2 separate regions of the Homo sapiens genome follow, and region 2 is linked to region 1. The links are contacts of gene promoters, found by promoter capture Hi-C in human tissues and cell types (Jung and others, 2019). All regions are on one chromosome and are shown on one strand. Each heading gives the region's core, a stretch centred on a gene start or on the middle of the fragment in contact. The rest is flanking DNA. Distances are from core to core; before and after follow the strand shown.

Region 1 (3,839 bases), core at 1-2,500:
TGAGGAATCTAGGGAATATAACCAGTGCTGGGGGCTCCCCACCTGAGCTGGCATGCTGGTTTAAGCCTCAGTTGTTTACTGGTCAGTGGCTTATTTCACCCCAGCTGCAGGGATGGAACAGCAAGTAGGGGCTTTACTGCCAAGTGAAGCTTTTTCCACTGCTCCCTTGGAGGGTTCTCCGCAGGGCCGAAACCTGGCCAGGAAACCAGATGGGAGAAGAGGAAGGGCTGGGGCTGTGAGCGGAGGTATGGACAGGGCTCTGAGGCCCCCCCAGGAAAGATTTGAACTCTAGAAGGCCGTGCAAGGTTGGAAGCAGGCTCTGGGAACAGCCTCCATTTGGTTCATCAGTGGATAATCTCCCCAACACCCCCCACAGCTGAGGCCTCTCCACCATCTGCCGCCCCAGCTGGGCCCAGTCAGGGGGTCTGAATGCCTCGCCCAGCTCAGTGACTCAGCAAGAGTCATCCTCATGGCTGGACTCCTGCCTTGTTCTGAGGCCAAGCCCTCGGCAACTGCCCCTGCATCAGCACCAGGACCCCACCTCACCTCCCTGACCACCCACCTGCCATGCCCTAAACCTGGGCCTTCTGCCTAGACCACCCAGGACAGGTCTTGCCTTCTACCCTCGCCATCTATGGAGGTGAGCCAGGGAAACCCTTTGACTCAGGCAGCACATTGGTGACAAGTCTCAGATTGAGTTTTTTGTGGTTTCCTTCCAGATGACATGCGCAGTTAGAGCATTTTACTTAAAATAGATCAGGGCCCTCAAAAGACAATAGCAAGGATTGTGTTGACCTTTGGAAGGCTCTGCCCAGCCCTCAGGCTTGGCCCCTGCTCCCCAGATCCACTCATCCACCCAACTTCCTTCAGTCTCTGCTTCTGAGACCTGCCCTAGTCGGCTCTCAGTGTAGAGGCCCAGTCTTGCCTGATCACACCTCCCTCAGGTGTCATGAGGCTCCTGCAAGAACCACAGCCAGCTTTCACCCCAAATCCCACCAGGGTCTCTCCCACCATGAGGGTAAATAAGCAGGAACTAAATAGCCTGTCCAAAGCAGAAACCAGGTTCATTGTCTAGTTAAAAGAGGGGCTCTTGCCTGAGAGAGGTGGCTCACACCTGTAATCCCAACACTTTGGGAGGCCGAAGGTGGGAGGATGGATTGAGGCCAGGAGTTCAAGACCAGCTTGGGCAACATAGCAAGGCCCCATCTCTTTAAAGAAAGAAAAAAAAAAAAAAGAGGGAGACCGGATCAGACTCTTGGCTCAAAAGTAAACTTCTGCTACAGCAAAACTTAATAAATAAACGAGTCATGAGTCACTACTTCCCAGAGATCTTCAGGGTCAACTGTGAGTAGCTGATATACTGAATCTCTTTTTTGTTTTTTTTGGAGACTGTAGCCCAGGCTGGAGTGAAGTGGCACAATCTCGGCTCACTGCAACGTCCACCTACCTCCCAGGTTCAAGCAATTCTCGTGCCTCAGCCTCCCGAGTAGCTGGAATTACAGGCACATGCCACCAAGCCTGGCTAATTTTTTGTATTTTAGTAGAGATGGGGTTTCACCCCAGGGTGGTCTCAAACTCCTGAGCTCAGGCAATCTGCCTGCCTCAGCCTCCCAAAGTGCTAGGATTACAGGCGTGAACCACCACACCTGGCCCCTAGTGAGTCTTAAATGGCAATTGACCAAGTGACCACACTGCCTACGGGGTCTGCAGTGAGTAGAGTGGTACCACCTGGAGGCTTGATAGCAACACAGCCTGGGGCCCCACCCCAGAGCCACTGAATCTACTGGCATTTTAACTCGACCCTCAATGACTTGCATGCACATTACAGTCTGAGCAGCTCTGGTCTAAAGCAGACTCTCGGCTCGGGCTGCACACTGGTCATCTGGAAATCTGTTTTTTTTTTTTTTTTTTTTTTTTTTTTTTGAGATGGAGTTTCGTGCTTGTTGCCCAGACTGGAGTGTAGCCATCTCGGCTCACTGCAACCTCTGCCTCCCGAGTTCAAGCAATTCTCCTGCTTCAGCCTCCCAAGTAGCTGGGATTACAGATGTCCGCCACCACACCCAGATAATTTTGTTTTTAGTGGACAGGGTTTCGCCATGTTGGTCAGGCTGGAAGTGATCCACCCACCTCGGCCTCCCAAAGGGCTAGGATAACAGGTGTGATCTGCCGCGCCAGGCCTTCTGGAGACCTTTTTTTAAAGCCACCCATCTCCGGTGATTCTATTTAATTGGTCTGGGTGAGGTTCACCCGTTGCTATTGTAAAAAGTTCTCCCTCATTTTTTTTTTTTTTTTCTGAGACGAGTCTCGCTCTGTCACCCAGGCTGGAGTGCAGTGGCACGATCTCGGATCACTGCAGCTCCGCCTCCCGGGTTCATGCCATTCTCCTGCCTCAGCTGGGATTACAGGCACCCACCACCACGCCTAGCTAATTTTTTTTGTATTTTTAGTAGAGATGGGGTTTCACTGTGTTAGCCAGGATGGTCTTGATCTCCTAACCTCGTGATCCGCCTGCCTTGGCCTCCCAAAGTGCTGGGATTACAGGCGTGAGCCACCGCGCCTGGCCTCTGACTCTTAATATATATCCAGGATTGAGAGCCAGTGGGAAAATGTCACTCCAGCAGGTTTTATCACTGCCAGCATGCTCCTGGGCCACTTACTAGCCTCTGAGCCTTCCTCTCCAGTGAAGTGAGAATAAAAGTGACTGTTGACTAGGCTTGGTGGCTCCCACCTGTAATCCCAGCACTTTGGGAGACCAAGATGGGAGGATCACTTGAGGCCAGGAGTTCAAGACCAGCCTGGGCAACATAGGGAGACCCTGTCTCTATAAAAACCATAAAAAATATTAGCTAGGTGTGGTGGTGCACACCTGTGGTCCCTGCTACTTTGGAGGCTGAGGTGGGAGGATCGCCTGTGCCTGGGAGGTCAAGGCTGCAGTGAGCCGTAAATGGAGCACACGAGTGCGCTCTAGCCTGGGCAAGAGTGAGGCCATCTCAAAAAAAAAAAAAAAAAAAAGAAAAGAAAAGAAAAGGAAAAAAAAATGACTGCTCTTCAAGTCAAAGGTATTAGAGACTGGAGGGTCTCTGGTGCACAGTAGGAACTGGGAGGAGGATAAAGATCAGTTTCAGGCCGGGCGCAGTGGCTGTAATCCCAGCACTTTGGGAGGCCAAGGCAGGCGGATTGCCTGAGCTCAGGAGTTCGAGACCAGCCTGGCCAACATGGTGAAACTTCGTCTCTACTAAAAATACAAAAATTAGCCGTACATGGTGGCAGGCAACTGTAGTCTCAGCTACTCGGGAGGCTGAGGCAGGAGAATTGCTTGAACCAGGGATGCAGAGGTTGCAGTGAGTCGAGATTGCGCCATTGTACTCTGGCCTGGGGGACAGAGCGAGACTCTGTCTCAAAAACAAAAACACAGCTCCGATTGCAGGCTGTGAAGGGCAGGGAATTGCACTCATTCTCCTCCAGCCCCTTCCCTTACCCAGGTCCAGGCAGCCTCCTTTGTCCCCAACCCCAGGGCTCTTGCTCCAGGCAGTCCTGAGGTTGGACGTAAGGTCGGTGATGCGGCCCTGCCCCCAGACCTTCCCACAGCTTCAGGTTCAGGAAAAGGCACATGAAGTTTGGTATAAACAAGGACACAACTTCACAGAGTTTCTCACTGATTTAAGTTAAATATTCTAGTCTTTAGAGAATGGGTCACATGACTCAGGAATTGCCAACAGCCTGTTTTCACCCAGCGGCTTCCTGGTTTACCCCCTTTAGGAGATGATTAATGGAAATTGAGAATGTGTCTCATAAATTACTTTTTTTTTTTTTAAAGCAGCACAGTTTTAGGAACTTTT
Region 2 (4,098 bases), core at 908-3,407, 610 kb before region 1:
ACCCAGCTAAGTTTGTATTTTTAATAGAGAAAGGGTTTCACCATGTTGCCCAGGCTGGTCTCAAACTCCTGATCTCAAGTGATCTGCCCACCTCCGCCTCCCAAAGTGCTAGGATTACAAGCATGAGCCACTACGCCCAGCCTTTCATAGTATTTAAAATACAGTTACATTTATTTTTTTCATATTTATCGCCATTTCAGGCAATACATCATAGGGTCTAATAACAGACTGTGAAGCCAAACTGCCTGGATTTGACGCCAGCTCTACCACTTTACTAGCTGTTAAGTTATTTAACCTCTCAGTTTCCTTATCTTTTTTTTTTTTTTTTTTTTTTTTTTTTTGAGACGGAGTCTCGCTCTTTCGCCCAGGCTGAAGCACAGTGGCGCGATCTCGGCTCACTGCAAGCTCCACCTCCCAGGTTCACACCATTCTCCTGCCTCAGCCTCCTGAGTAGCTGGGACTACAGGTGCCCGCCACCACACCCAGCTAATTTTTTGTATTTTTAGTACAGACGGGGTTTCACCGTGTTAGCCAGGATGGTCTCGATCTCCTGACCTCGTGATCCGCCCGCCTCGGCCTCCCAAAGTGCTGGCATTACAGGCGTGAGCCACCGCGCCCGGCCTCAGTTTCCTTATCTTTAAAATGGGGATGACAACAATATTACCTACCATATAGGGTTTTTGTGAGGATTAAATTAGTTGCTATGAGGATTAAATATGTAAAATGCTTAAAACAGCCACCCCAGTTCCAGTTCATTCCTGAGGTCCCACTGTATTCTGGAGACACTCTTGTATCCTTACAATAAATTCCTTGTGGCCGGTGGGGGTGGCTCGTGCCTGTAATCCCAGCACTTCGGGAGGCCAAGGCAGGAGGATTGCTAGAGCCCAATCCAGCAATCCTGGTTCAAGACCAGCTTAGGCAACATGGTGAAACCCTGTCTCTATAAAAAATTTAAAAAATAAAAATAATAGATTTCTTTTTCTTGCTAAAAGCAGTTTAAACTTGTTTCTGTTGCATGTATCCAATCTTAACTGCTGGATAATATCATTTGTATAAATATACTTCCATGTAGCCATTCTTCCGTTGATAGTCATTTTATTTTCAATTTTTTTCACTCTTAGAAACAAAACTGTAATGAACTTCTTGCATGTGTCTCTCTGCACATATTCATTAATTTCTCTAGGGCATATACCTAGAATTGCAATTGTCACAGCCTTGGGATTTTAATTTCCAAAATCTGACTCTGCCTCTTCCTGCGCTTTCTTACGCTTTCACTTCCAGCAAGCTGGAAGCCTCTTTAAACGTGGAAATCAGAGATAGTAGCCCTAATAAGGGTACAATAATAAATCATTCTTTGCAAGACTACACCTGTTCTAGGGTTTCATAAAGATCTCTGCTCCTCCCATGGCCAATAACTCAGTGGTTCTGATTTGAAAGCAGCAACCCTGTGACTCGCCACCTCGCGTATTCCCTGGTGTGAGTGGAGCCTGGAGTTCTCGTGTGTGGGGTGGAGGAGCCGTGCTGGGGACCCATGAGGCTGGAGAGGCCGGCACAGGCCAGACCATAAGGGGCCACGTGTTTCAGGGCAATGTACGTTGCGCTGGGGCCTACTGCCTCCCTTAGGACAGGGATGGGGCGACCTCCATCGTTTCAACCACAGGACACAGCGATGGCGGGGAGCTGAAGTCCTACTGCCGTCTGATCTTACTCCGCTCTTCCCCTTCAATCCCATCCAAATAGTGTGGGGGTTGGCCTCGAGGTTTCTCAACGTCCTTAAGCCCTGATTTAATACCTATGCATAGGGCCTTTCATTTATAGGGTTTTCCACCTGACGGGCCCTCTTCCGCTGCCGTTTCGCTTTGGCGCCCTCTGGCGCCCATAAACGAAGTGACGCGCCTGCGCTTCCCCCACCCTCTGCCCTTCGTCTCTTCCCCAGGTCGAATTGGTACCTCTACCTTTAGACACAGGGCCTAGCGGAAGAATTCCAGGGCCTAAGACTAGAAACGCGCGCTTGAAGCTCCCTCAGATTGGTCCAGTGAGGGAAGGGGAGGGCTGTAGCAAACTCCACAAAAGTCATTGGTCTCTTTCCTCAGGCTCCGCCCCGTGAGGCAATAGAGAACTCCCGTAATTGGTCGGAGCTCTGGAGGCGGGGCTTCGAGCGTGGCTCGTGGGTTTTCCGTGAAGTCGCGGTGCAGCGGTGGGCGGCATGTCTGTGGCCGGTGGGGAGATTCGTGGGGACACGGGGGGAGAGGACACTGCTGCTCCCGGCCGGTTCAGCTTCAGCCCGGAGCCCACGCTCGAGGACATGTAAGCAGGCCTGGCCCAGCTCGGGGTGGGGAAGTCGCCCCTTTCTCCCGCGTTTTGGGGAGGGTTCCTCCACGTGGTCGGGAAGCGGGCTGGCAGCGGGGCTCGGGTCCTGGCTCTGTGGGCTGTCCCTGGGTGAGCCTTCTTACCTCATCTGCAAAATGGGCGCAGCGGTGCACACCTGAGGCAAGGGAAATTGGGTGGTGCCTCCGAGTGGTAACTAGGAACGCCCTTCAGCCTAGCCCTGGGAAGATACCGGCACCAGATACCGCCTCTGCTCTCCAGGCGCCGGGGGTACGAGAGGGGCAAACGAAGTGCTGAGAGGTGGGAGACGTTATTTTTTGCTGGAGGAGGTCAAGAAAGGCTTCTTAGAGGAAGGGTCTGTGGAACTACCTTCTGTAAGAGAAATTGCATTTTGATGTGCGGCGATTCCAGGTGGAGGAAACTGCAGAAGTAGCAGCAGGAGATGGAATAATGAAGAGGGTTTTGTTAGTTTTGGCGAGATGTTAAGGGCAGTTCAGGGGCACGCCCATTTTATAGATGAGGGAACCAAGTTCCGGAAAGAGGAAATGACCTGCACAATACCATCCAATGAATTAGTTGCAGAATCTCCTGGTCCCAGGCCCCATTACATACTACGGGGGTAGCTGCCTCTGGCCCCTGCATCACCCTCTAACCCGGAGACTTGGACTTACACTCCTTTGTCCTATTTCAGCCGCCGCCTCCATGCTGAGTTTGCTGCGGAACGAGACTGGGAACAGTTCCATCAGCCTCGGAATCTCCTCCTGGCCTTGGTTGGGGAAGTGGGGGAGCTGGCAGAACTCTTGTGAGTAGATGGAAAGCTTCCTGGTAGAGTCTGAGTTGTGGGGGAGGGGAGGGGAGCATTTATTTGGTCTTCAAACATTCATGGGTTCAGTTTCCCCTCCTGATTGCTAGGCTCTTTGCTGTTGTTGGGATGCAGAGAGGACTCACGGGTCCCTGCCCTCTAGGGGCACTCAGCCTCCTGGAAGAGAGAGGTGTGAGGTGTGAAAGCATCAGGACAGGTCCCGTCTAGGAAGAAGCAGTGGCAACAACCCTTTTCCCTTCTTTTGTTTTTTGTTTTTTTGGCTTTTTTTTGAGACGGGGTCTCGCTCTGTCGCCCAGGCTGGAGTGCAGTGGCTCAATTTCGGCTCACTGCAACATCCGCCTCCTGGGTTTAAGCAGTTCTGTCTCAGCCCCCCGAGTAGCTGGGACTACAGGTGCCCCCCACCACGCCTGGCTAATTTTTGTATTTTTAGTGGAGACGGGGTTTCACCATATTGGTCAGGCTAGTCTCAAATTCCTGACCTCAGGTGATCCACCCGCCTTGGCCTCCCAAAGTGCTGGGATTACAGGGGTGAGCCACCACGCCTGGCCCAACAACCCTTTTCCTCTGCCTCTGGGGCTGAAAGGAAGGTATTCTGTAGAGGACCTGCCTGTGGCATTCCAGACATGGGAACTACATTTGCAGGGGCAGTGAGGCAAGAAAGGGCAAGTTCAATTCAGGGAGAATCTGACGCTCCTTCATTGTAAGCATCTCAGGAAAAATCAGGGATTTGGGATCTGTTTTCTCTGATGTGTCCCAAGTGCCCAGCGCATAGTAGGCGCTCAATAGGCACACGTTGGATGAGTGATAGGGCTGTGGAGGAGAGGGGTGGGAGTTGAACCCACAAAGATATGATTAGGGCTAGAGTATGATGGAGAGTTTGGACAGAAGACCTGACCAGATATGAGTGTTGGAAAGGTCACTGTGTCTACAGGGTGGATTGGATGGAT

What was found. Contacts are between HindIII fragments. The study calls those that stand out against the background at their distance.
Region 2: the fragment with the promoter of DCTPP1 here is called in contact with a fragment that was not itself captured in region 1 in 1 of the 25 tissues and cell types used here (dorsolateral prefrontal cortex).

The regions. Positions count from the first base shown.
Region 1 is chr16:29,822,296-29,826,134 of GRCh38, reverse strand. All of the region lies in intron 1 of MVP (major vault protein), which reads right to left. PAGR1 (PAXIP1 associated glutamate rich protein 1) reads right to left here. Exons shown (of 3, transcript NM_024516.4): 3 at 3,646-3,839. Among named protein-coding and RNA genes, the nearest start is that of MVP, 3.8 kb to the right of the region's middle. RefSeq lists enhancers at 1-551, 738-867, 928-1,007. The HindIII fragment of the contact is 4,985 bases long and covers 1-3,742 here.
Region 2 is chr16:30,428,089-30,432,186 of GRCh38, reverse strand. DCTPP1 (dCTP pyrophosphatase 1) reads left to right here and starts at 2,157. Exons shown (of 3, transcript NM_024096.2): 1 at 2,157-2,307; 2 at 3,020-3,130. The coding sequence starts at 2,207. RefSeq lists enhancers at 1,710-1,819, 2,220-2,299, 3,053-3,553, 3,554-4,054. The HindIII fragment of the contact is 14,232 bases long and covers 1-4,098 here.